Linked DNA regions of Homo sapiens: regions 1, 2 and 3 are each linked to region 4. The links are contacts of gene promoters, found by promoter capture Hi-C in blood cells and fetal thymus (Javierre and others, 2016). All regions are on one chromosome and are shown on one strand. Each heading gives the region's core, a stretch centred on a gene start or on the middle of the fragment in contact. The rest is flanking DNA. Distances are from core to core; before and after follow the strand shown. Region 1 overlaps TEX11 (testis expressed 11). Region 2 overlaps TEX11 (testis expressed 11). Region 3 overlaps TEX11 (testis expressed 11). Region 4 holds the start of DLG3 (discs large MAGUK scaffold protein 3).

Region 1 (6,875 bases), core at 2,941-5,440, 200 kb after region 4:
GTTAGAATGGCAATCATTAAAAAGTCAGGAAACAACAGGTGCTGGAGAGGATGTGGAGAAATAGGAATGCTTTTACACTGTTGGTGGGACTGTAAACTAGTTCAACCATTGTGGAAGTCAGTGTGGCGATTCCTCAGGGATCTAGAACTAGAAATACCATTTGACCCAGCCATCCCATTACTGGGTATATACCCAAAGGACTATAAATCATGCTGCTATAAAGACACATGCACACGTACGTTTATTGCGGCATTATTCACAATAGCAAAGGCTTGGAACCAACCCAAATGTCCAACAATGATAGATTGGATTAAGAAAATGTGGCACATATACACCATGGAATACTATGCAGCCATAAAAAATGATGAGTTCATGTCCTTTGTAGGGACATGGATGAAATTGGAAATCATCATTCTCAGTAAACTATCGCAAGAACAAAAAACCAAACACCGCATATTCTCACTCATAGGTGGGAATTGAACAATGAGATCACATGGACACAGGAAGGGGAACATCACACTCTGGGGACTGTTGTGGGGTGGGGGGAGGGGGGAGGGATAGCATTGGGAGATATACCTAATGCTAGATGAGGAGTTAGTGGGTGCAGCACACCAGCATGGCACATGTATACATATGTAACTAACCTGCACAATGTGCACATGTACCCTAAAACTTAAAGTATAATAAAAAAAATTAAAAAAAGATAAATAAAATAAAAAAAGAAAGAGAAGACAGTACAGCTGGTACCAGAGAAATATAAAAAATCATGCGACTACTATGAACAATTATGTACCAAGAAATTGGATAATCTAGAAGAAAGATAAAGTCCTAGACATATAAAACCGAGATGGAATCATAATGAAATAGAAAATGTGAACAAATAATGAATAAGGAGATTAAATGAATAACAAAAAATCTTCCATCTAAGAAAAGCTCAGGATCTGATGGTGTCACTGCTCCTACCAAACGTTTAAAGAACTAATACCAATCCTTCTCAAATTCTTCCAAAAAATGGAAATCATTTCACAAAATTCAACATCATTCCATGATTTAAAAAAAAAAACACAATAAAGGCCATATATGACCAATGGACAAATAACACCATACTCAATGGTGAATAGTTAGGAGCGTTTCCTCTAAAATAAGGAAGAAGACATGGATGCCCACTCTCACTACTTCTATTCAACATACTACTGGAAGTCCTAGTCAGAGTAATTAGGCATGAGAAATATCTAAGTTGGAAAGGAAGAAGTTAAATTGTCTGCTTGTAAATAACATGATCTTATATATAGAAAACCTTACAGAGGCAATGAAAAAAAATTTAGAACCAATAAGTGAATTCAATTAAGTAGCAAGATACAAAATCAATATACACAAAGTAGTAGCATTTCTACATACTAACAACAAACTACCTGAAAAAATATTAAAAACATGATTCCATTTACAATAGCTACAAAAATATTTAGGAGCAAATTTAATGTTGAAGTGAAAGACATGTACACTAAAAACTATAAAACACTGATGAAAGAAAGTGAAGAAAACACAAAGAAATGGAAAGATATCCCAGGTTCACGGATTGGAAAAATATTGTTAAATGTCCATACTACCCAAGGCAATCTACAGATGCAATGCAATCCCTATTAAAATTCCAGTGACATTTTTTCCCAGAAATAAAAAAAAAAATACTGACGTTTCCACGGAAGCAAAAAGACCCTGACTAGCTATCGCAATCTTGAGCAAAAATAAGAAAGCTGAAGTCACCATACTATGTGAAGTCAAAATAAACTACAAAGCTATACTAATCAAAACAGCATGGTATTGGCAGAAAAACAGATACATAGGCCAATGGAAGGAAATAGAGAGCCCAGAAATAAATCCACACATTTACAGTCAATTGGTTTTCAATAAAGGTGTCAAGAACACACAATGAGAAAAGGACAGTTTCTTCAACCAATAGTGTTGGTAAAACTGGATACCCACATGCAGAAGAATAAAATTTGACCCTTTTCTCACAATATATAAAAAAGCTATTCAAAATAGATTAAAGATTTAAACGTAAGACATGAAACTGTAGAACTACTAAAAGAAAACATAGAGGAAAAGTTCCACGACATTGCTAAACACAAAAATAGACACATGGGATTACATCAAACTAAAAAGCTTCCACACAGCAAAAGAAACCATCAACAGAGTGAAGACACAATGTATGGAATGGGAGAATATATTTACAAACCAGGCATTTGAGAAGGGGTTAACATCCAAAATATATAAGAAATTCAAACAATTCAATAGGAAGGAAACAAATAACCTGATTTTAAAATGGGCAAATGACCTGACAAGACACTTCTCAAAAGGAGATGAGCAAGTGGTCCACAAGTATATGAAAAAATGTCTAACATCACTACTCATCAGAGAAACGCAAATTAAAACCACGATGATAACATCACCCCACATCTGCTAGAATGGCTATTATAAAAAAGACAAAGGAGAGCAAGTGCTGACAAGGATGCGGAGAATAGGGAACTCTTGCATATTGTAGGTGGGAATGTAAATTAGTATAGCCATCATGGAAAGCAGTATGGAGGTTCCTCAAAAAAATTAAAGTAGAACTACCATATGATCCAGCAGTCCCACTACGTAGTAGAATATAAAAAAGAAGTGAAATCAATATGTCAAAGAGATATCTGCACTCCCATATTCATTGCAGCATTATTCACAATAGCCATGGTATGGAATCAACTTAACTGTTTATCGGTGGATAAGTGGATAAAGAAAATCTGGTGTATATATAGACAATGGAATACTATTCAGCCTCAATAAAAGGAGGAAATCCTGTCATTTATGAAAAAAAGGTATGAACCTCGAAGACATTATATTAAGTGAAATAAGCCAGGCACACAAAAATAAATACCACATGATCTCATATGTGAAATCTAAAGAAGTTGACCTCATAGAAGCAGAATAGAATGTTCATAGAAGCAAAGTAGAATGGTGGTTACCAGGGACTAAGGAGTCGGGGAGATTAGGGAGATGGTGAAAGAATACAGAATTTCCGTTGAGCAGAAGGAACAAGTTCAAGAGATCTATTGTACAACATGGTGACTATAGATTATAACAATGTATTCTATTCTTAAAAATCACTGAGAGTTTAAGTGTTCTCACCACAAAAAAAATGCTAAGTATGTGAGGTAGGGTTGGGTGTGATGGCTCATGCCTGTAATCCTAGCACTTTGGGAGGCTGAAGCAGGAGGATTGCTTGAGCCCAGGAGTTTGAGGCCAGCCTGGGCAACATAGTGAGACTCCATCTATACAAAAAATAATAAAAAAGATGAGGTGGAGGATCTCTTGAGCCTGGGAGGTCAAGGCTGCAATGAGCCGTGATCATTCCACTGCACTTCCACTTGGGTGACAGAGTAAGACCTTGCTTCAAAAAAATAAAAAATAAAAAAAGGATGTGAGGTAATGTATATGTTAATTAGCTTGATTTAGCCATTCCACAATGTATACATATCTTTAAAACACCATGTTGTTGCTGGAGAGGATGTGGAGAAACAGGAACACTTTTACACTGTTGGTGGGACTGTAAACTAGTTCAACCATTGTGGAAGTCAGTGTGGCGATTCCTCAGGGATCTAGAACTAGAAACACCATTTGACCCAGCCATCCCATTACTGGGTATATACTCAAAGAAGTATAAATCATGCTGCTATAAAGACACATGCACACGTATGTTTATTGCAGCACTATTCACGATAGCAAAGACTTGGAACCAACCCAAATGTCCATCAATGATAGACTGGATTAAGAAAATGTGGCACATATACACCATGGAATATTATGCAGCCATAAAAAATGATGAATTCATGTCCTTTGTAGGGACATGGATGAAGCTGGAAACCATCATTCTCAGCAAACTATAGTAAGGACAAAAAACCAAACACCGCATATTCTCACTCATAGGTGGGAATTGAACAATGAGAACACTTGGACACAGGAAGGGGAACATCACACCCCAGGGCCTGTTGTGGGATGGGGGACTGGGGAGGGATAGCATTAGGAGATATACCTAATGTAAATGACGAGTTAATGGGTGCAGCACACCAACATGGCACATGTATACATATGTAACAAACCTGCATGTTGTGCACATGTACCCTGAAACTTAAAGTATAATAATAAAATAAATAAATAAATAAAACCCACCATGTTGTTCATGATCAATATATATATAATTTTTATTTGCCAATTAAAAAAATAAGTTTTTAAAAAAGACAACTTGTATCCAGAATATATAAAGAACTGTCAAAAATCAGTAATAATAAAACAAAGTACCCTATCTTAAACTGGGAAAAAGATTTGTACAAACAACCCAAAAACATACATGGTTTAATAAAATATTAAACATTAGGGAAATGCTAATGCCACAGTAAAACACTACTACCCACTATCAGAATAGCTAAATTTTTGTTCTTTTTTATTGTTTTAACTTTAAGTTCTAGGATACATGTGCAGAAAGTGCAGTTTTATTACGTAGGCATACGTGTGTCATGGTGGTTTGATGCACCTATCAACCCATCACCTAGGTTTTAAGCCTCACATGCATTAGCTATTTGTCCTGATGTTCTCCCTCCCCTCCCCGCCCCCAACAGGCCCCAGTGTGTGTTGTTCCCCTTCCTGTGTCCATGTGTTCTCATTGTTCATCTCCCTCTTATGAGTGAGAACATGTGGTGTTTGGTTTTCGGTTCCTGCATTAGTTTGCTGAGGTTGATGGCTTCCAGCTTCATCCATGTGCCTGCAAAAGACATGATCTTATTCCTTTTTATGGCTGCATAGTATTCCACGGTGTATATGTACCACATTTTCTTTATCCAGTCTGCCATTGATGGGCATTTGGGTTGGTTCCATGTCTTTGCTATTGTGAATAGTGCTGCAATGAACACACGTGTGCATGTATCTTTATAATAGAATGGTTTATATTCCTTTGAGTATATACCCAGTAATGGGATTGCTGGGTCAAATAGTATTTCCGGTTCTAGATCCTTGAAGAATCACCATGCTGTCTTCCGCTATGATTGAACTAATTTACATTCCCACCAACAGTGTAAAAGCATTCCTATTTCTCTACAGCCTCACCAGCATCTGTTGTTTCTTGACTTTTTAATAATCTCCCAGAATGGCTAAATTTTTTTAAGTGGACAATTTCAAGTGCTGATGAGGATGTAGATCAGCTAGAACTCTTAAACATAGCTGGTTCACAGGTGAAATTGTATAGTCGCTTTAGAAAACAGTTTTGCAGTTTCTAATAAAGTTAAACATGTATTTACCATATAAGTCCACAGTCCCACTCCTAGATATTTACCCTACAGAAGTAAAATATTATCATCGAATTAACTGGGCATGGTGGTGCACACCTGTAGTCCCAGCTATTCAGGAGGCTGAGGCAGGAGAATCGCTTGAACCTGGGAGGTGGAGATTGCAGTGAGCTGAGATCATGCCACTGCACTCCAGCCTGGGTGACAGAGCAAGACCCCATCTCAAAAAAACAATATTATTATCACAGAAAATATGTAAAGAGATGTTTTACAGCACCTTTATTCACAATTGTCAAAACTGAAAACTTTGAACTTGTCTCAGAGGTGAAAAAAAACCCTGAAAACCATTCAAATATCCTTCAACTGGTGAATGCATTTTTCCATACTGTGGTATTTCCATACTATGGAATGCCACATAGCAATAAAAAAGAACAAACTGTGGATAAACACAATATGGGTGAGTTTCAAATGCATTAAGTTAAGTGAAAGAAGCTCAAAAAGATTCATACTATATGATTTCATTTATATGACATTCTGGAAAAGACAAAACTATAGAGATAGAAGAGATTACTGATTTCCAGGGCTGAAAGTGGTGAGAAGGAGTAACAGTAAAGGGCCCTGAGGTATTTTTTTTCTACATTGTGGTGGTAGTTATATGACTGTATGCACTTCAAAACTCAGAATTTTTAACATATATAAACCTCATAGGACCATACACTAGCAAGAGTAAATTTATTATATGTATCTTCAATATACGTGACTTAAAAAATGGTCACAGACAACTGGAGAAGAAATAAAAGGGTTGATCTGATGTTGTATTTAAAAAGTAAAATAATTTTTAAAAAATAATGTTAAAACAAAAGATTTAACAGGAAAATTACTAATATTTTTGCCATTTTTACTGGCAAAAAAGCTTCAAGTTATTTTACCCTTAAACACAGTATATCAAGTAAAACAAATGCCTAAAAGTCTCTAATGAAAACTTTGATGATGAACATGACAGCAATATTAACCTCTAATTTACTATTCCTTAATTATTATACAGGTATACTTTACTATTCTGGAACATTTCTTTTTTAATGTAAAATAAATGATCTTTTTTCTTAAGGAGTGAATAACAGAGTCCTTTGTACGTAGTAGGTGTCCAAAAACAGTTGCTTAATTGGATTCGTATACATTTTGTTTGGATCCATTAATTTAAGTTTCTTAACTTCTGCCAAACAAATGGCAACCAGTCTGGAGCTCAGACTCCTTCAGGATTAATTCAGCTACCTGAGGGCTGAAGGCATTAATATCTGAGCAAAGGCATATCTATAACCAATTCAACATATATGTGCCCATGCAGACACACCAGCTAGGAAACTATGCTTAACTTAATGGAAAGGCCTCAACATTAATGGGATGAGGGTCATGTGTGAAATTCCAAGACTGTCTACTCTGTGGAGAGAAACTCCATCTCAAGGCCAAATCTCTCACCAATCACCTCCCAAATAAGTGAAAACAATCAAAAGGTACCCCAACTTTCATTTTTTGAAGACAATTCTTAACTGATATGGGTTTTTA
Region 2 (7,073 bases), core at 1,747-4,246, 160 kb after region 4:
AAGGTAATTTATAGATTCAATGCCATCCCCATCAAGCTACCAATGACTTTCTTCACAGAATTGGAAAAAACTACTTTAAAGTTCATATGGAACCAAAAAGGAGCCCGCATCGCCAAGTCAATCCTAAGCCAAAAGAACAAAGCTGGAGGCATCACACTACCTGACTTCAAACTATACTACAAGGCTACAGTAACCAAAACAGCATGGTACTGGTACCAAAACAGAGATATAGATCAATGGAACAGAACAGAGCCCTCAGAAATAACGCCGCATATCTACAACTCTCTGATCTTTGACAAACCTGAGAAAAACAAGCAATGGGGAAAGGATTCCCTATTTAATAAACGGTGCTGGGAAAACTGGCTAGCCATATGTAGAAAGCTGAAACTGGATCCCTTCCTTACACCTTATACAAAAATCAATTCAAGATGGATTAAAGACTTAAACATTCGACCTAAAACCATAAAAACCCTAAAGGAAACCTAGGCATTACCATTCAGGACATAGGCATGGGCAAGGACTTCATGTCTAAAACACCAAAAGCAGTGGCAACCAAAGCCAAAATTGACAAATGGGATCTAATTAAACTAAAGAGCTTCTGCACAGCAAAAGAAACTACCATCAGAGTGAACAGGCAACCTACAACATGGGAGAAAATTTTCGCAACCTACTCATCTGACAAAGGGCTAATATCCAGAATCTACAAGGAACTCCAACAAATTTACAAGAAAAAAACAAACAACCCCATCAAAAAGTGGGCGAAGGACATGAACAAGTATTCTTTAGAGAGACAGAGTACCACTGTCCGATTCATAGGGACCACACTTAGATGATAAAAGGCAGAAGTGCATCTTCAATTATGTATATAGACATCCTTTCAAAAGCAAAGAAGATTATAGAAAGGTTACTAGTTTAGAGAGTTCTGAGAAAACACAGAGGTGTACATGAGAAAGAACACAGAATAAAAAAGAACGGTAGTTAGAAACAAACAAAATAATGATTGTACTTAAGAGTTTGTGAAATTTCCCCCACATCAATTTGATCTCTATTCACTAAGATAAAAAATTAAACAAACTCAGGATTACCAACCAAAAAGGAAAAACTTTTAGAAATTTAAAAGCACTATATAAAAATAAGATGTTATTATTATTTTTTAGTAAAGCAAAAGTCCCTATTGAGAATTAAATTACATTTACCTTTGCCTGTTAAGTAGAATTTTTGTTTGTTTATTTTGCTCTGGGGAAGGTAGAGTCTTTTCTCATCTTCTTTTAAAATAAAAAGACTCTTAAAAGAGGGCCCCCTTTACTCCTCAGAGGCAAGGACTTTGGCTTCTTTATCTCTGTATCCCCAGTACCTAGAAAAGTGTCTGGTGCTCAAATGTTTTTTGAGTTGAACTCAACAATGGAAGGGAAAAGAAGCGAAATAGTTGGCATAGCTCTGGTGAGAGTTTGTTTCAGATCCAAAGAACAATATGAAATAAGAGATTAACAGGAGGAAGAGAATAAACAGCAAAGGGTTTATATTACTTGGAGAGGAGGGAAGGTGACAAGTATGGGAGATTAGGAAGTTTTCTTTGTCCAGGTACGAGAAACCAAGCAGAGAGATCTAGATCTTAAAAATCATACAAAAATGCTATTGGTCTGATTTGGAGACAATTTTCTTAGATTGAAAGAAGAAAGGTAAACAGCTAAAAGCAAACCAATAATCTGGTGTATGGGAGACGGTGATATTGATAGCTCCTAAAAGGGGTAACATTTAAGAATCTGATAGGGGAATTCAGGCAAAGGTAAGGAATTCTGTCTTGTAGAAATTAAGTTAATGAGATATTTAAGGATGTGGGAAAAAGAAAGCAAATGCAATTGAGAGAAGAAAAACCAGATAAGTAATAATTTCAGATGGCTATCAAAGCTATGGAAACAGATGAGTTCTTCCTTAGAAGATGTGGTAAGAAACAAAAGTGGAGTCCAAACGCGTATATAATCACAGGCAGACAATGAAGATAAAAGATATTTAAAAACATTTTTGGAAAGAGTGGTCCATAGGAAGGGGAATTTTAAAAGAAGAGATATCTAATCTTCTTAAAAGAAGAGGCCACACCAAAAGTAACCTTTGCTTAGGAAGGAATTAGCCATTACAAACTTTTGAAATCAAGACGATGCTGGAGTGGAGAAAAGGATTCTCTAAAGAGAATCAAAAAGAACTGCATCAGGGAAGGCAAACATATCAAATAGCACACTGAACTCTTGTCTTTTCTTTGAAGGTTGCACATTACCTGTTCAAAAGCTGTTGAAGCTTTTCTCCCTTGCTCTAGATCAACTGCAACTGCCATAAGTAAACATGTTTTCCGTGCAATCAGAATTACTTGATCAGAAGGACAAAACTGGGACATCTGATAAGAAGTAACCAGAACATCAATGAATAGTGAGAATTCTGCCAGGTGAACACAAACAATCAGAATGAAAATCAGCAACTTCCTGTTTGAATGAGAAAATTCAGCTGGAAAAGCACATGTCACCATAGAAATGATATAAACTATAATACTGATTTATGCTTTTAATTTTATATTACTTTCCATTGTTTTTAGTACCTTCCTAGAGATAAAAAGCTTCATTTCTTCACAGTATTCCTATCTTTTCCAGTGACAAGTAGTATCATTCGCCCTTGTATTTCTATCTAGTGATTTACTTCTTGGTTTATGTTGTAATTTGTAAGTGATTTTTCCCCTGGCAAATAAGATTTCCACCTTTGTATTGAATAGAGCCAAAATTAGTTCATATATTGTCATGGTTGAAAGAGGCATTGTCAAATCTTGACAGGCATTAGTCATGACCTCATCATTAACATTGTATAGTTTTAGGAAAAACTCCCAGCTACTACAATAAAACTCTAGGCCATTTGGATTCTTACACGCCAATCCTACAAGTCCCATCACAAATGCCAAAACTAAAACCAATTTATTTCACTTAATTAAAATGGCAGTTATGCCTAAACTTGCAAAGACTATTTCTTAATCTCCCCAAACATTCAGTGATCATAATCATCATTGTTATTAAATTAATAGCATTTTAAGACAACCAATCTCTTTAGGTCTCTGATTACTCTTATGTGAGATGAAGGAGTTGTGCTAGATAGTCTTTATAGTTCTTTCTAGCTCTAAAACTCTTAACATTTAATTGATCTCAACATATCATACTGTGTATTCCTGAATGTGTATGAAGGATATTCTTTAGTCCTTCTCCTTTTATCTTCCTGTCAATACTTGGTCCTCTTTCTGGCATTTAACCTCTACCTTGGAGGCCAACGACTATTTAAAAATGCTTATAATTAAATAACAAACTCACAAATCGCTACACTCAGGACCTGCTATAGGAAAGTTATAAAGGAGGCCTAAGCTTCTTATCTCTTTTTTCAGCCCCTGCTATCCCCAGATACTTATTCTATGTTCTTGTAGACTTATTCCCATAACTCTTCATAATGTGTTGGTAATTAACAACTACTTAGAGTATTCCCCTCCTAAAGATATTTACATTTTAATATAGGACTTTGGGAGGCTGAGATCCCTTCAAAGGCAAAGAAATAAGTCTTAAATGGTAGAACTTTAGGCTCCCTGATGAATGTTTCTGATATTTTGGTATAGAAAGATATGCCCCACATTCTTATGTTATACCCTAAAAGGAACAAATTCTTCTTAGGTCATTCCTGCTTACATATATATTAAAAGTTCCTAGATCAAGAGACAATCCTAGTCTATATTTAGCCCTTTACTATAGCCATAGTGGTTATAGCCTTGTTGTGGTCCATACATGAGATACTTATTAAAAGAAACTTACCTTATAAGAAAGTATAAAAAACTCTCTCATCATCACTGGATCTTTGTCACATTGCACAGCCAAGTTCCAAGCTGGAAATTAACATGAAATAACATAATAATATGAAATTATGAAAATCTACCATTTAGTCTGTACCATTACAATTTCTGATACTTACACCTTTGATATTAACATACTAGTAAGGGGTTTCTCAAGGTTTAAACAATTAACTTTAGGTTTTAAAGAAAAATTTTCCAGGTAAATTTAGAGACCCTCGTCAATTCCAATCTTCAACACTAGACCAATGACCAAGGGAGGTACTGCTGAATTTTTTAAAATTGGGGACATGCAATAAGAATTCTTAGCTGAGGCCAGGCTTGGTGGCTCATTCCTATAATCCCAGAACTTTGGGAGACCAAGGCAGGAGGATTGCTGGAGGCCAGGAGTTCAGGACCAGCCTGGGCAACAGAGAGAGACTCCGTCTATACAAAAAAATTAAAAAACAAACCAAAACAAAACAAAACTAGCCAGGTGTGGTGGCACACAACTATAGTCCCAGAAGACTGACACCAGGAATTTGAGGTTACAGTGAGCTATGATGCCACCACTGCACTCCAGTCTGGCAGCAAAACTCCGTCTCAAAAAAAAAAAAAATTCTTAATTGACACTAATCTATCTAAAAATGAAGATCAACATGGATAGAGCTCACTAACTCGCAGTGGTGAAAGTAAGTTAAAATTCACCTAAGAACAAGGTACACTGTAATCAAGAGTTGAGAAAAATTACTGGAGAGATTCATATCTTCCAAAGAGCAGTAGAAGCCCTCATCAGGCATCAGTCAGCATCATCTTCCCCTTGGAAAATCCAAATTAAAATGCAGTAAAGTAAAAACATTCCTTTTCAAACCTTCAAAAGATTAAAGTCACCAAACTTGTCTATATTTTAAATGTTTGTTATTTTTCATTATTTGCATCAGTTTCTTAGAAGTCAGATTGCAGTATTCATTCCCTTTCTCCCAGGATTAAAGCCCTATTAAACCTCATAACACAGGGAGAGGTTCATGTAGAATCAGTCCACTTTGTGGCACTGCTGCTTAATTGCTCATGCTTACTTATCACTGTAGTAACTGCCTCCGCAAGTTTTAAAATCATTTTTATTGAAATAGAGCCATTATAAAGTATATTACACAACTCATAATTGTACAGCTTGATGAATTTTCACAAAGTGGACATATCCATGCGTCTGGCACCCACATTAAGAAAGATCTTGAACATTACCAGAAACCCTGAAGCTCCTACAACTTTCAAGTCCAACTCCTTTTCCAGGGTAACCATTATCCTGACTTATAACACCATATATTAGTTTTGCCCATTTAAAAAATTATAAATAAAATGAACAACACAATATGTATTCTTCAATATCTAGCTTCTTTTGCTCAACATTATGTTTGTGAGATTCATCCATATTGTTGTATATAGTTCATTTTTGGTCAATCACACTCAGAAATAAATTAAGTATTCTAGGCCAGGCACGGTGGCTTACGCCTGTAATCCTAGCACTTTGGGAGGCCGAGGCAGGTGGATCACGAGGTCAGGAGATCGAGACCATCCTGGCTAACACGGTGAAACCCCATCTCTACTAAAAATACAAAAAATTAGCCGGGCGTGGTGGCGGGTGCCTGTAGTCCCAGCTACTAGGGAGGCTGAGGCAGGAGAATGGTGTGAACCCGGGAGGCGGAGCTGGCAGTGAGCTGAGATCAAGCCACTGCACTCCAGCCTGGGCGACAGAGCGAGACTCCATCTCAAAAAAAAAAAAAAAAAAATTAAGTATTCTAAACCAAGTTTAGGAGCACAACCTTGAGGACCTGTAGTTACAGTTCATTAGTTTCATCTTAGACCCATTTCTATAGAAAAGGGACACAACTAATGTCCATTGAGTATCTACTATGAAAAAAGTATATATGCTGTTTCATTTAAAACCCTTAATAACTGCATGAAGTATATATAACTATTTCCATTTTATAAGTAATAAAACAGATTAAGCAAGTTATCTCTGTACCCACAGCTACAAATGAAAGATCCAGAATTTGAAATCACATCTGTCTAATTCCACCACCCCACAATGTTTCCCAGAGCCACAGAATTTCCTCTTACCTGTTTTTCGAAACCACTGAGCTTCATTAGCTCTTGACTCCAAACTTAAGGCTTCTTCACCAAAAGGCTGAGAAAGTTTCACAAAGGCTGCATCAAACAGGAAAATTTGATACTGATGGTCTTATTTTATACTCTAGCAAAATTGTTTAATCCTGCTTTAAGAACAGTCTCACAGGAGTTTGAATTTAGAAAGTTCTTTTTTGTGTATGTGTGTAGGGGTGCATACCAAAAGTAATTAAAATGACAGAAAGCATTACCAAGTTCCAAGAAGTTGTTAACTCAAACTCTGGGGAACAAACATGTCTTTGGAGAGATTTATAATTTTAATTAGTGCAATCATTCACCACCTGAGGTAGAAAGATATGATTTACATGTGAGGAAATAAAAAATAGAAACAATCGTTTAAAAGACTGAACTGGAGATTGAAAATTAGAAGGGTATCAATATGCTGGCATAATATTTACTGAGCCAGCAAGCTCAGGACAGAACCAGAATGTGCTATCACTATCAGAAGGCATTCTCTTTCTGAGAAATAAGAATGCCAACCAGCAAAGTTTTTCTCTTTTGAAAAGAAGTGGTCTGGTTTCTAAACCACTTTGCTATGTTTAACACCCTGCTGACAGGTATTTGAGGTATAAAATTGAACTACTGCACTGAGCAGGATAGAATTTCTAAGATATGAACTTTTTGGTGTGTTTTGGACATAAGGAAAGAGGTACATGGACAGTAAAAATGGGAGATCTGTTAAAAGGGATGCCATGTAAAAAAGCATGTAGTTAGAAAAAAAATGTGATACAACTAGGAGATTAGCTTGAATAAAGTGGACAGGGAAAAATTATTAGTAGATAAGGGAGATGGCACAGACTTGGGTGGACAGCTTCAAAATAAGAGAATATGCAACCTGAATTTGATTCAGAGGGTATGAAAAAAACAGCAGGGTTCAGAGTATTTTTATTTGTCTTGATCTTTTTTCACCTGTTCAATTCTTAGGTTAGGATCAAGTGGCTACTAGAAAAGAAAGGTAGAGGGACAGGGAGGGAGAGAAGGGAGGAAGGGAGAGAAGGAAAGGAAAGGAGGGAGGGAAGGGGGAAGGAGAGAAAGAAGGAAGGAA
Region 3 (7,017 bases), core at 2,087-4,586, 140 kb after region 4:
AAACTTTCTGTTCTCAGGACCTCTTCGTACTCTGAAATATTACTAAGGACTTCCAAAGAGGTTTTCCGCATGTATGTTGTAACTATCAATACTTACCATATTATAAATTAAAACAGAAAAAATTAAATATATTTATTGATTGAATTGATTTGAGATGAATCTGTTGCATGTTGATGTCAATTTTAATAAAAATAATTTTATTTTAAAAATAAGAAGATTGCTTCACATTTTTGCAAAGTTCCCTAATGCCCAACTTAATAGAAATAATTAGACTCTACTATCTGCTTCTGCATTCAATCTATTACAATATCACACATCATACTGCCCCTGAAAAACTACACATCTTAGTATTATAATAAAAATAGTTTTGACCTAGCAGATGCTCTGAAAGATGGTCAGTTTGTTCCAGAACATCAAAGAGCATAATGAAGGACAAACTGGGAAAGTTAAATTTTTTTGCCCTGGTTTAAACCTAGGTCTGAAATAAAGCTATGCAATGTGTTAAAATTGTAGCAACCTTATCTAAATTTTGATGGGCTTGCTTCCTTAATTTATTGATTAATGCCTTCACCACAATGCAAAAGTTATTCTTCATCTTCTGTGTAATCTGCCTAGATAGCAGACTCTGTGTTTTACAAGAATAATTCTCTGAGCTTTATGTTGTCTTTTTCTTTATTTTTGATTATTTAGTGGCAAACTAACAAAGAACAAAGGTTCCTCACTTGTCAAAGAGCTAAAGTTCTTTAGAATTGTGTTACCTCCTATGTTAGAATTGTGTTACCTCCTATGTACATTTATTTATTTATTTATTTATTTATTTATTTATTTATTTATGTGATGGAATCTCACTCTGTCTCCCAGGCTGGAGTGCAGTGGCACAATCTTGGCTCACTGCAATCTCCACCTCCCAGGTTCAAGCAATTCTCCTACCTCAGCCTCCCGAGTAGCTGGGATTACAGGCGTGCACCACCACACCGAGCTAATTTTTGTATTTTTAGTAGATACGGGGTTTCACCATGTTGGCCAGGCTGGTCTTGAACTCCTGACTTCAGGTGATCCACCCACCTCGGCCTTCCAAAGCCCTATGTTTATTTTTAAATGTTTGATTGTCACTTTGTTTAAATAGGTAACCAAGTATTGTTTATTGGGCACTCATGATCCTATTTATTTATTTTTATTTTTAATTTATATAAATTTAAAGGACAGAAGTTCAGTTTTGTTACATGGATATATTAAGTAGTAGTGAAGTCTGGGTATTTACTGTAACCATCACCCAAATAATGTACATTGTACCTATTAAGTAATTTCTCATCCTTTAACCCCCTCCCACCATCTCACCCTTCCTAGTCTCCAGTGTCCATTATTCCACACTCTATGTCCATGTGCATACTTTATTTAGCTCCCACTTATGAGTGAGAACATGCAGTATTTGACGTTCTGGTTCTGAGTTGTTTCACTTAAGATAATGGCCTCCAGTTTCATCCACGTTACTGCAAATGACCTGATTTCATTCTATTTTTATGGCTGAGTACTATTTAATTGTGTGTATCTTCATTCCACATTTTCTTTGTCCAATCTTCCATTGATGGATACGTAGGTTGACTCCATATCATTGCAACTGTGAATAGTGCTGCAATAAATATATGGGTGCTGGTATCTTTTTAATATATAATTTCTTTTCCTTTGGGTAGATACCTAGTAATGGCATTGCTGGATTGAAAAGTCATCAGAAAAATGCAAATTAAAACCACAATGACATATCATCTTACACCAGTCAGGATGTCCATTATTAAAATGTCAAAAAATAACGATGTTGGCAAGGATGCAGAGAAAAGGAAATGCTTTACACTGCTGGTGGGAATGTAAATCAGTAGAGCTTCCATGGACAACAGTGTGAAGATTTCTCAAAGAACTAAAAACAGAACTACCAGATCCTATTTTAATCAAGGCCCAATTTGCCTCTAACAACTCTTGATTTTACCTTCCAAAAATTGAATCACAAATAGAGATTACTATGAACTACTGTACATCAAAAAATTAGATAACTTAGATAAAATGACAAATTCCTGGCCGGGCGCGGTGGCTCACGCCTGTAATCCCAGCACTTTGGGAGGCCGAGGCGGGTGGATCATGAGGTCAGGAGATCGAGACCATCCTGGCTAACAAGGTGAAACCCCGTCTCTACTAAAAATACAAAAAAAAAATTAGCCGGGCGCGGTGGCGGGCGCCTGTAGTCCCAGCTACTCGGGAGGCTGAGGCAGGAGAATGGCGTGAACCCGGGAAGCGGAACTTGCAGTGAGCCGAGATTACGCCACTGCAGTCCGCAGTCTGGCCTGGGCGACAGAGCGAGACTCCGTCTCAAAAAAAAAAAAAAAAATGACAAATTACTAAAAGCACACAAATTACTAAATTGACTTTAGAAGAAATAGAAAATCTCAACAGACCTATAACAAGTAAAGAGATTAAATAAGTAATTTAAAACCTCCCAATAAACAGAAGTCTAGGACCAGATGGCTTCACTGGTGAATTCTTCCAAACATTTAAAGAAGAATAAACAGCAGTTCTCTCAAACTCTTCCAAATAATGGAAGAGGAGGGAATACTTCCTAACTTCTTCTATGAAGCCAGCATTACCCTGATACTAAAGCCAAATGTAGACATCACAAGAAAAGAAAATTACAAACCAATATTCTTTATGGATATCAATTAAAAAAACCCCATGAAAATACTAGCAAACCAAATCTTACAGCATATTAAAGGATTATACAATCTGATTAGGTGTGATTTATCCCAAGAACGCAAGTTCAACATAAGTAAATCAATTAATGTAATATACCACATCAATAGAAAAAAGGAAAAAAGGTCATATTCATTGATGCAGAAAAATCATGTGATGAAATCCAAAATATTTTCAAGATAAACTAGGAATGGAAGGGAATAGCCTCAATCTGATAAAGGGCATTAAAAAAAATTCCACAGTTAACATTATACTCAAAGGTGGAAGCTTAGCCCTAAGATCAGGAACAAGACAAGGATGCCCTCTCTCACTACCGCTATTCAACATTGTACAGGAAGTTTGCTATTCAACATTGTACGGGAAGTTTTAGCCAGATAAATTAGGCAACAAAGAGAAACAAAAGGCATCCAAAGTAAAAAGAAAGAAGTGTAACTCTCACTGTTCACAGATGACATGACCCTACGTATAGAAAATCCCAAAGAAACCACAAGAAAGCTACAAATTCGGCAAAGTTGCAGGTACAAGATGAACATGCAAAGATCAATTGTGTTTCTATACATCAGCAATGAACAATCTAAAGAGGAAATTAAGAAAACAATTCATTTACAATAGTATTCAAAAGAATGAATTTAGCCAAGAAGGTGGAAGATCTGTACAATGATTACTATAACACACTGATGAAAGACATTAAAGAAGACCTAAATAAATGAAAAGACAGCCTACATTTATGGATTGGAAGACTTAATATTGTTAAGATGTCAACATTTCAAAACTTATATCACGCTAAGCGATCCCTATCAAAATTCCACCAGCCTCTTTTTACAGAAATGAAAAAGTCAATTCTCAAATTTATATGGAATTGTAAGGTGCCCCAATAGTTCAAAATGAATCTTGAAAAATAACAAAGTTGGAGGGCCAACACTTCTCTGTTTCAAAGCTTATTAGAAAGCTACAGTAATAAAACAGTGTGGTACTACCATACAGATAGACATATAGACCAATAGAATAGAACTGAGAGTTAAGAAATAAACCCATACATCTATGGCTGACTGATTTTCAACAAGGGTGTCAAGACCATTATATGGGACAAAGAATAGTCTCTTCAGGCCGGGTGTGGTGGCTTACACCTGTAATCCCAGCACTTTGGGAGGCCGAGGTGGGTGGATCACCTGAGGTCAGGAGTTCGAGACCAGCCTGACCAACATGGTGAAACCCTACCTCTACTAAAAATACAAAATTAGCCAGGCATGGTGGTGCATGCCTGTAATCCCAGCTACTTGGGAGGCTGAGGCAGAAGAATCACTTGAACCAGGGAGGAGGAGGTTGTAGTGAGCCAAGGTTGTGCCATTGCACTCCAGCCTGGGCAACAAGCAAAACTCCGTCTCAAAACAAACAAACAAACAAAAAATAATAGTCTCTTCAACAAATGGCATGGTGGCAACTGGATTTCCACAGGCAAAAGAATGAAGTTGGATGCCTACTACACCATTGAATATAAAAATGAACTCAAAATGGATCAATTACCCAAACATATAAGCTAAAACCATAAAACTCTTAGAAGAATTTATAGGAATAAATCTTCATGACTTTGGATTTGGCAATGGATTCTTTGACATGACACTGAAAGCACAAGCAACAAAAGAAAAGGTAGATAAATTGGACTTCATCAAAGTTAAAAACTTTTTTACATCAAAGGACATTATCAAGAAAGTGAAAAGAAAACATGCAGGAGAAAATATTTGCAAATCATATACCTGATAAGGGTTTAATATACAGAATATATAAAGAAATCCTAAAACGCAACACCAAAAAACAACCCAATTTTAAATATGGGCAAAGAACTTGAATAGACAAGTCCTTTCCCTCCCTCAAAGATGAAATACAAATAACCAATAAGCACATGAAAAGATGCTCAACATCTTTAGTCATCAGAGAAATACTAATCAAAACCATGAGATACTATTTAACCTACTAGAATAGCTATAATAATAAAAAATGGAAAACAACAAGTGTTGGCAAGGAGGTGGAGAAATTAAGATACATTTCCTGGTGGGAATGTAAAATGGCGAGAATGGACTAATACAGTAAATTGGTGCCAGTAGAGTGAGGTACTGCTATAAAGAGACCCAAAAATGTGGAAGTGACTTTGGAACTGGGTGACAGGTAAGAGGTTGGAACACTTTGGAGGGTTTAGAAGACAGGAAGATCTGGGAAAGTTTGGAACTTCCTAGAGACTTGTTGAATGGTTTTGGCCAAAATGCTTATAGTGATATGAACAGTGAAGCCCAGGCTGACATAATCTCACATGGAGATGAGGAACTTCTTGGGAACTGGAGCAAAGGTCACTCTTGCTATGCTTTAGCAAAGAGACTGGTGGCATTTTGCCTCTGCCCTAGAGACCTCTGGAACTATGAACTTGAGAGAGACGATCTGAAATTGGAACTTATGTTTAAAAGGGAAGCAGAGCATAAAAGTTTGGAAAATTTTCAGCCTGACAATGCAACTGAAGAGAGAAACCCATTTTCTGGGGAGAAATTCAAGCTGGCTGCAGATATTTGCATAAGTAATGAGGAGCCCAATGTTAATCACAAAGACAATAGGGAAAATGTCTCCAGGGCACGTCAGAGACCTTCAAGGCAGCTCCTCCCATCACAGGTCTGGAGGCCTAGGAGGGAAAAATGGTTTCCTGGGCCAGGCCCAGGGCTTCTCTGCTTTGTGTACTCTTGGAACTGTGACTTCTAGCCACATCCTAGCCATGGCTAAAAGGGGCCAACATACAGCTCAGGCCATTGCTTCAAAGGGTGCAAGCCCCAAGCCTTGGTGGCTTTCATGTGGTGTTGTGCCTGTGGGTGCACAGAAGTCAAGAATTGAGGTTTGGGAACTTCTACCTAGATTTCAGAGGATGTATGGAAACAAATGGGTGTCCGTGGAGAAGTTTGCTGCAGGGGTGGAGTCCTCATGGAGAACCTCTGCTAGGGTAGTGAGGAAGGGAAATGTGGGGTTGGAGCCCCCACACAGAGTCCCCACTGGGGCACTGCCTGGTGGAGCTGTAAGAAGAGGGCCACCATCCTCCAGACCCCAGAATGGTAGATCCACTGACAGCTTGCACTGTGCACCCAGAAAAGCCACAGACACTCAATGCCAGCCCGTGAAAGCAACCAAGAGGGAGGCTGTACCCTGCAAAGCCACAGGGGCAGAGCTGCCCAAGACGATGGGAACCCACCTCTTGCATCAGCATGACCTGTATGTGAGACATGGAGTCAAAGGAGATCATTTTGGAGCTTTAAGATTTGATGCCCTGCTGGATTTCAGATTTGCTTGGGGCCTGTAGCCCCTTTGTTTTGGCCAATTTCTCCCATTTGGAATGGGTGTATTTACCCAATATCTGTACCCCCATTTTATCTAGGAAGTAACTAACTTGGTTTTGCTGTTATAGGCTTACAGGTGGAAGGGACTTGCCTTGTCTCAGATGAGACTTTGAACATGGACTTATGAGTTAATGCTGGAATGAATTAAGACTTTGGGGGACTGTTGGGAAGGCATGATTGGTTTTGAAATGTGAAAGGCACATGAGATTTGGGAGGGTCCGGGGTGGAACCATATGGTTAGGCTTTGTGTCTCCACCCAAATCTCTTCTTGAATTGTAATCCCCATAATTCCCATGTATTAAGGGAGAGATTGGGTGGAGGTGATTGAATCACAAGGGCAATTTCCCTCTTGCCCTTCTCGTGATAGTGAGTTCTCATGAGATCTGATGGTTTTATAAGGGACTCTTCCCCTTCACTCGGCACTTCTCCTTCCCATCACCTTGTGAAGAAGGTGCCTTGCTTCCCCTTCGCCTTCTGCCATGATTCTAAGTTTCCTAAGGCCTCCCCAGCCATGCTGAACTGTGAGTCAATTAAACCTCTTTCCTTTATAAATTACCCAGTCTCAGGCAGTTCTTTACAGCAGTATGAAAATGGACTAATACACCATATGATGGAATAGAATTCAGCCTTAAAATGGAAGGGAATTTTGACACATGCTATGACATGGACGAATCTTGAATACATTATGCTAAGTGAAATAAGCCAGTTACAAAAAGACAAATATTGTATGATTCACTTAAAGGAAATATCTAGGGTTGGGCATGGTGGTTCACACCTGTAATCACAGCACTTAAGGAGGTCAAGGTGGGAGGATAGCTTGAGCGCAGGGTTCAAGGCTGCAGTGAGCTATGATTGTGCCACTGCACTCCATCCTAAGCAACAGACCAAAACCCCAACTCAAAAAAAAAAAAAA
Region 4 (7,755 bases), core at 3,249-5,748:
GTAAGTCTTGGCAAAGAAATAAGAGATATAATGAAGAATCAAATAAAATTTTAGAACAAACTATAATAACCAAACTAAAAAACTCAGTAGATGAGCTCAAAAGGAGGATGGAGAGGACAGAGGAAAGAATCAGTGAACATAAAGATAGAACATTAGAAATTACCCAATCTGAACAACAATGAGAAAATAATAGACAAAAAATAAATGAACAGAGCTGGGCACAGTGGCTCACGCCTGTAATCCCAGCACTTTGGGAGGCTGAGGTGGGCAGATCACTTGAGCCCAGGAGTTCAAGACCAGCTTGGGCAACATGGCGAAACCCTGTCTCTATTAAAAATACAAAAATTAGCTGGATGTGGTGATGCACACCTGTAGTCCCAGCTACTCAGGGGGCTGAGGTGGGAGGATCACCTGAGCTTGGGAGATCGGGGCTGCAGTAAGCTGTGATTGTGCCACTACATTCTAGCTTGGGTGACAAAATGAAACAGAGTCTCAAAGAAAAAAAAATGAACAGAGCCTCAGGGATGCTTGGGACTATAACGAAGGACTTAACATTCACATAATTGGAGATGTGGAAGAAGAAGAGAAAGAGCATGGGGCTAAAAAAAATTACTCAAGAAATAATGGCTGAAAATTTGGCAAAAGACATAAATGAACAGGTTCAAGAGGTTGAACAAACCCCAAATAGGATAAACTCAAATTCACCCCAAGGCACATCATAATCAAACTTCTGAAAACTGAAGATGGGAAACTTGAAAGCAGCAAGAGAGAAACAACACCTTACCTACATAGGAAAAGGAATTCAAATGTGGCCAGGTACAGTGGCTAACACCTGTAATTCCAATACTTTGGGAGGCCAAGGTGGGAGGATAACCCAAGGCCAGGAGTTTGAGACCAGCCTGGGCAACATAATGAGACCTCGTCTCTACTAAAAATAAAAAAATTAACCAGGAGTGGTGTGCGCCTATAGTCCCACCTACTGAGGAGCCTGCTTGGGAGACTGAGGCAGGAGGATCACTTTGAGGCCAGGAGTTTCAAGGCTGCAGTGAACTATGGTCACACCACTGCACTCCAGCATGCTATATCTGGTGAAAATATCCTTCAGGAATGAGGGGGAAATCAAGACATTCTCAGACAAAGGAAAGCTAAGATAATTTGTTGCCAGCAGACAAAGAATGGCTAAAGGAAGTTATCAAAACTTACAGATGAATAATGGAACCATTTACATGTAATGAAACTTACATGTAAATGGTTCAGAAAAAGGGATAGATAGATAGATAGATAGATAGATAGATAGATAGAGCATTAACTGGGCATGGTGGCACACACCTGTGGTCCCAGCCACTTGTGAGGCTGAGGTGGGAGGATTGCTTGAGCCCGGGAGTTTGAGGTTGCAGTGAGCCATGATCACGCCACTGCACTCTAACCTGAGTGAGTGAGCAAGACCTACTCTTTAAAAAATATAGATAGATGGATAGATACATAGATACATAGACAGAGCAAATATAACAATCAAAACAAGTCAAATTGTCGACTTGATAAGGAAGGCATACAGTGGTGTCCATTGTACTACTCTTCCAATATTTTTGTATGTTTGTAAATTTTCATTTTTAAAACTGTTGGAGAGGATATGTGGAGGATAGATATATGATAAAGCAAGCATAGCAAAATGTTAATGAGAATCCTAGGCAGTGGGTAATTGGATGTTCACTGTAAAATTCTTTGAATTTTTCTGTATGTTTGAAAACTTTCATATTAAACTGTGGGGGCAAAAAACTTGAAAAAAAAATCACAACTTGGTATCCTCCCCTACCATTCCCAATCCATCTTACTGTGCTCTACTTTTTATTTTTTTCCATGGCACTTATCACCATATACACAGCAGGTGTATATGCTGAATAATGTTGTTTTCTTCAACATCATTTTGTTTTAACATTGATGAGGGGGAAAAAAAAACAACTAAAACGATTCCTGGCCAGAGCCACTGTCTGTGTGGAGTTTGCACACTCTCCCCATGTATGTGTGGGTTTTCTCGGGTATTCCAGGGTACTGCGCTTCCTCCCACATCCCAGTGCACGTTAGGTGAATTGGCGTGTCTAAATTGTCCCAGTGTGAGTGAGTGTGGGTGTGTATGTGAGCGCACCCTGTGATGGAATGGCATCCTGTCCAGGATTGGTTCCTGCCCTGTACCCTGAGCTGCTGTGATAGGCTGTGGCCACCCTTGACCCTGAACTGAAATAAGCAGATTGAAAAATGAATGAATGGATGGATGGATGGATGGATGGATGGATACAAAGTACTGTAAAATAAAAATTTGTCAAGTAGTTGATAATCATACAAATGCACAATAAACTATGAGGTAAGAAAGTGCTCATCGAGCTCACCATATTCGTGATTGTTTGCTTTTGAACTGCATGGTGGTAGGGAGGTGCTCCTTACAATTTTCGCTTTGCATACATTTATTCCTTGATTCAACCCACCACCACTTCCACTGCTGTCACTCACTGGTTCACCAAAGGTTAGGTAATTATTTACTTGTTTTCATTAATCTTTCTATATGTATGCATAGCTCATATTTATTTCAATGTTCAATATCAGAAGTGTTTTGGGTCTTTATTTGGAAGCTGGGTGATGTTTTGTGACCAGAAATATGCTGTAGGAACTTAGCTCTTGTTTATATTAATTAGCCTGTGGTAAAATTGGTTTTGTTATACGTTGTTTCACTTAGTCCCAGTTGCCAAGGACCTACCAATGATGTTAAATGAGGACCTACTGTACTACATAATTCACTTATTTATTGTGTTTATTTTTGTCTGTGTCCTCTCACTAGGAGGTAAGCTCCCCAAGGGCAGGGATTTGTTCTGTTTGTTCTGTTTTATTTTGTTTCCTGCTATATCCCCAAATCCTACAACAGTGTCTGGCACACAGCAAGTGTTCCACGCATATTTGTTGAATTAAGAATGAATCTCTGAGGGCCGGGCACAGTGGATCACACCTGCAATCCCAGCACTTTGGGAGGCCAAGGTGGGTGGATCACTTGACGTCGGGAGTTCGAGACCAGCCTGGCCAACGTGATGAAACCCCATCTCTACTAAGAAAATACAAAAATTAGCCGGGCGTGGTGGCAGGAGCCTGTAGTCCTAGCTACTAGGGAGACTGAGAGGCAGGAGAATCGTTTGAACCTGGGAAGCTGAGGTTGCAGTGAGCTGAGATCACGCCACTGCACTCCAGCCTGGGTGACAGAATGAGAATCCATCTCAAAAAAAAAAAAAAAAAAAAAAAAGAACCTCTGTATCCCTAATACCTAGGTCAAGGTCTTGCACAGAGCAGGTGCTCAATGAATATTTGCTGAATTGAACTGAGATGTAAATTCTGCAGGAGAACTTAGAATAGACCTGTCGTACTAGAGTGGTTCACAGCGTGGACTCTGGAGTCAAATAATCAGGATTTGCATCCTGATTCTGTCACTTCCAGCTGTGTTACCTAGCTGTGTTAACATCTTTGAGCCTCAATTTCTCATTGGTAAAATGAAGATAATAATAGCATCAGCTTGGTAGGATTTGGGTTTGCGTGTTATGCACTTAGGACTTTGTAAAGACCCAATAATTGGTAGCTAAAAACAAAACAAGAACTGCAAAAAAGATAGTCTTTCTTGTATGTCATCCTTCCTCCATTCCCCCGACAAGCTGAGCCAGGAGAGGGTAAGGAGATGTCCTTGGACAAGTATTCCTAAGCTCTATTCCAGACCCATAGAAGGGTTTCTCTCTCTTCAAATCCCTTCTTACCTTTTCACCTGTCCTGGACTTTCATCTTGATATCCTGAAGTTCCTTCCCCCATCATAACCATGCAGGGGTGGAGTGGAGGAGATAGGGGTTTGTGGGCCAGGGACAAGGACTTAGAGCTTTCTGTTAATCCCTGTTCTAGGGTTGAGTTCTTTACTGGTGATGGTAGAAGGTCAAGTGTGAGGTCACAGTAATTTCAGGGCCTAGAGACTGAGAGAACAATAGTCTTGTGTAGGAGGCATTGACAGGACAGCGGGCCTCATATGCTGCCTTCTTCTTTGGTCCCCTGTAAGAGAAAGCACCTCCCTCACCCTGCTCCAACGTCCTTTCTGTCCATCCTGCTACCTCGTCTTTACTTCTGGTGGCCCCAGCTCAGAGCAAGCCTGGGGACCCATTGAACATCTCCCTGCAACTCCCTCTTGGAAGTGGGGTGGGGTGGAGTGGGCAGAGGACAGGCTAAAACTGGCGATATAAGGGCACAAGATCGGGTGCCTGAGCTTTCTGGTGGCCCACGTCCTCTGCCCCCGCCCTTAGAGCCAACAGTTCCCTAGAGATTGGGGGAGCTGGGGCTGAGCCTGGGGGCGCCGCTGCCTCTGTTCCTTTAAGTAGCCGCTGTTTAGCATTCCTGCCGCCGCCGCTGCCGCTGCCGCTGCCTGCCTCTGCGCGCTGATTGGCTGGAATCAACTGAGAAGGGAGCCAGGGAGAGATGCTCTTGACTCCACTCAGATCCATCCTGGGGACCAGAGCAGAAGCGGTCCTCACAGCACCCATTCTCTGCTTGAGCTCCCGCTTCTTCTTTGCCGCTGGGCCTCGGCCCAGAAGCCACGACGGGCGACACGGAGCCGCCAGTGCTGGAGGGGGAGCCGTGGGTGCGGGGCAGCGTGGGGGCCGAGGCCCCGGGACGCCCGCCCGGCCCCAGGCCCCGCTCAGCCCGGGCGCCCCCACGGGTGCCCCCCCCTTCTTGGTCCGAGCAGTGTGAGTGTGCCAGGGAGCCCGGCGGCGGCGGCGGCGGTGGTGGCGGCGGTGGCGGCGGCGTGGAATCCGGCGTGGGCTGGGGGGTCCGAGCCGCGGGGGGCAGTGCCATGCACAAGCACCAGCACTGCTGTAAGTGCCCTGAGTGCTATGAGGTGACCCGCCTGGCCGCCCTGCGGCGCCTCGAGCCTCCGGGCTACGGCGACTGGCAAGTCCCCGACCCTTACGGGCCAGGTGGGGGCAACGGCGCCAGCGCGGGTTATGGGGGCTACAGCTCGCAGACCTTGCCCTCGCAGGCGGGGGCCACCCCCACCCCTCGCACCAAGGCCAAGCTCATCCCCACCGGCCGGGATGTGGGGCCGGTGCCTCCTAAGCCAGTCCCGGGCAAGAGCACCCCCAAACTCAACGGCAGCGGCCCCAGCTGGTGGCCAGAGTGCACCTGTACCAACCGGGACTGGTATGAGCAGGTATGGACCAGCGGAGGGGGGAGCGGTGGGGCAACCCAGGAGGGCTGGAGAGTGGGGGCCTAGAGGCCTGGGATGCAGTAGGGGTCGCTGGGGCTCCAAGCCTGTGGACCCCGAGCCCTAGCATTGCAGCTGGGCAAAGAGAGGCGGTGGGAAATGTGTGGTTCCCTGTGTGTGTCTGTTTGGGGGTCTCCATTAGAAGACTGGGAGGAGCCGTGTGTCAGGGGGTAAGGGCATGGCGGAGGGGCACATTTTCCTGTGTGGGGGAATTGGGTTTGTCTCAGTGTGGGGGTTTGGCAATGTCTCTGTGTCTGGCAGGGGGCGGGAGGTTCTGCGGGGGCTGTGTGTGGTGTGTGTCTCCACCGGAGGGGAGGGGAGGGGGCATGGTGCTCTGCGTAGGGGGGACATATGTGTGTGTATGTATGTTGGGGTGTGTGGAGGAAGGCAATGGAGCTGCCGTGAATCCGTGTGGAGGAGCCCATGTGCCCGGCTCGCTGAGCTTCATCCCTTGATGCCATGAGTCCCTCTCCGTCCCAGTCCCTTTGTGTGTGAATGTGCACATGGATGTGTGGAGATGTCACTCTGAATGTGGAGAGGTCTCTGTAGAGGAGGCTGCAGGGATGGCTGTGTTTGTGTGTGTGGCTACATGTATATGTGTGTGAGCATGTGGCTGCAAGAGTGTGCACGCGTGTGCCTGGTGTGTGTGTGTGAGTGTGTGTTTGTATGTGTTGTCTCTGGTGAGAGGCGCTTGACAGGCAAGGGAGGGGAGAGGAAGGAGGCGAGAGACATGTCCCAAGCAAGGCTGAGAGGCTGCTGAGAAGGACGGACTCTTTTGTCCAAGCAGCTCTGTAGTGTGTGTGCCGGGGTGGGGTGGCGGGGGGCGGGGGGAGATTTGAAGGAACTGAAGCAAGCCTCCTCGCTCTAGAGCAGGCATGGTGCCTGGAGCCGGCAAGGGGCAGCTGCCCTGGTGCAGAGACTGGCCCCAGTGGGGCATGTCCCCCTTGGGTACCTCCAGATGTGAGAGGGCTTAGCCCCCCAGCCCTGACTTGGCACAGCTTGGGAGCCCCTGGGTGCTGGGCACAACTCCGGCTTCCACTCCCAGCCTAAACTGCCAGCTTAGAAAATGGAAGGAGCATCTGTGGGAGAAGCAGCAAAATGGAGGCTGGGCTGGCAGAGCCAGGTCCCTGGCACGCAAGGCGGAGGGCCTGTCTGGTTATCCGGCTCTGCAGCTCCTAGGGTGGGGAGAGAGGAAGAGGAGGCTTTGCTGTCGAGGGCAGGTGATGACTTCCCCAAGCTGGTGACCGTTCTGGCTGCCTCTGTCCTCTGGGGATAGGATGTGCTCTCACTCAGAGGCAAAGGTGGGGACTTCCTGGGGAGAAGAGCCCTCAGTTCTGGCCTTCTGTCTGTCCACACTTACTGCTTTCCCACATCCCTTGCCTTGGCCTCTTGCCCTTTCCAGCGAGTCCCTCTCTCTCCTTTGCCCCCTCTCTGTCCTGGAGGCCTTTCTCTCGCAAACACCCTCTTATGCTTGTCCTGCCCGGCTGGGAGACAGGTGGCAATCCCAGGCTGGGCCAGTTGGCCAAGGTTTCTTTGCCAGGGCTGATCCCTGGATGGCTCCTGGCCCTGAGAACAAGGTCCTTGAGTAGGGGTGGGGGCTAGAGCGTGGACCACTGGGAACGGGAAGCCTCTGGGTACCACTGGGGCTGGGCTTGAGGCATGGCTTGTCACATGTGGGCACACATGGTACACCAAATGCACACAAGAGCCACATGGGTGTCCCTTTGCTTATGTGTCTGTTGCATGGTACTTAAGGCAGCTGTGTTGGTTTCGGGTCTCTAAGGAGCCTTCAGTTCTTCTTCCTGGGGTCACAGACCAGGGTAAGGCTGTAGCTGGAGTCCTCCCACCAACTCCCACAGCTGCAGAGCCAGCCCAGAAATGGTGGAGGCATGATGAGCTAGTCCTCTCTCCCTCTCCTCCTCTCTGCTTCTTGAAGCCAAAGCTGTGTGGGGTGGAGGTGGGACGGGGGAAGCACAGCAGGACATGTGGAGGAGCCCCCACCCTGGTTTCCAGCTCCCCACTTCTGAGGAGGAGGCTAGAGGTCAGGGAAGGGACAACATAGCCAGAGAAAGGTGGGGGAGGGGTGCCAGGGTACCTGGGGAGACAGGCAAGAGGGCTTCTCCATTCTTGGAGGTGAAAGTGGGAGCCAGCAGGCAGGTGCTGCTTGTATGTCCAGAATCACATTTTCACTTGACAAATAGATACACACATGTCCTGTCTGGGAGGCCATCTCTGTGGGTTGGCCAAATCACCCCTGTGTTTCTGACCCCTTCCCTTGCCTCTTCTTGCATGGCTACTACATATTGAAAACCATGGACTCTGCTGCCAATCAGCCTGTGGGTCACCAACTTCTCCCTCATGGGGAATCTTGTCTACCCTGCTCCAGTCCCACCCGTGGCTTTGTCTCTGACTCCTGACCAGATCCCACCCTCGCCCTTTCTGCTGGGAAAAACAAAGGGCTCAGAATCAAAAATCCTTT

What was found. Contacts are between HindIII fragments. The CHiCAGO score rates a contact against its expected background, and 5 or more counts as called.
Region 1: a fragment that was not itself captured here is called in contact with the fragment with the promoter of DLG3 in region 4 in 1 of 17 cell types (M2 macrophages); the score reaches 8.3 in M2 macrophages.
Region 2: a fragment that was not itself captured here is called in contact with the fragment with the promoter of DLG3 in region 4 in 1 of 17 cell types (M2 macrophages); the score reaches 7.4 in M2 macrophages.
Region 3: a fragment that was not itself captured here is called in contact with the fragment with the promoter of DLG3 in region 4 in 1 of 17 cell types (M2 macrophages); the score reaches 7.4 in M2 macrophages.

Annotation. Positions count from the first base shown.
Region 1 is chrX:70,644,238-70,651,112 of GRCh38, forward strand. All of the region lies in intron 17 of TEX11 (testis expressed 11), which reads right to left. Among named protein-coding and RNA genes, the nearest start is that of DLG3-AS1, 190 kb to the left of the region's middle. The HindIII fragment of the contact is 4,065 bases long and covers 2,159-6,223 here.
Region 2 is chrX:70,603,129-70,610,201 of GRCh38, forward strand. TEX11 (testis expressed 11) reads right to left here. Exons shown (of 30, transcript NM_031276.3): 22 at 5,963-6,049; 23 at 3,831-3,901; 24 at 2,273-2,389. Among named protein-coding and RNA genes, the nearest start is that of DLG3-AS1, 150 kb to the left of the region's middle. The HindIII fragment of the contact is 787 bases long and covers 2,604-3,390 here.
Region 3 is chrX:70,581,930-70,588,946 of GRCh38, forward strand. The region is part of intron 25 of TEX11 (testis expressed 11); the gene reads right to left. Among named protein-coding and RNA genes, the nearest start is that of DLG3-AS1, 130 kb to the left of the region's middle. The HindIII fragment of the contact is 670 bases long and covers 3,002-3,671 here.
Region 4 is chrX:70,440,337-70,448,091 of GRCh38, forward strand. DLG3 (discs large MAGUK scaffold protein 3) reads left to right here and starts at 4,499. Exons shown (of 19, transcript NM_021120.4): 1 at 4,499-5,222. The coding sequence starts at 4,866. RefSeq lists an enhancer at 4,017-4,803. The HindIII fragment of the contact is 21,076 bases long and covers 1-7,755 here.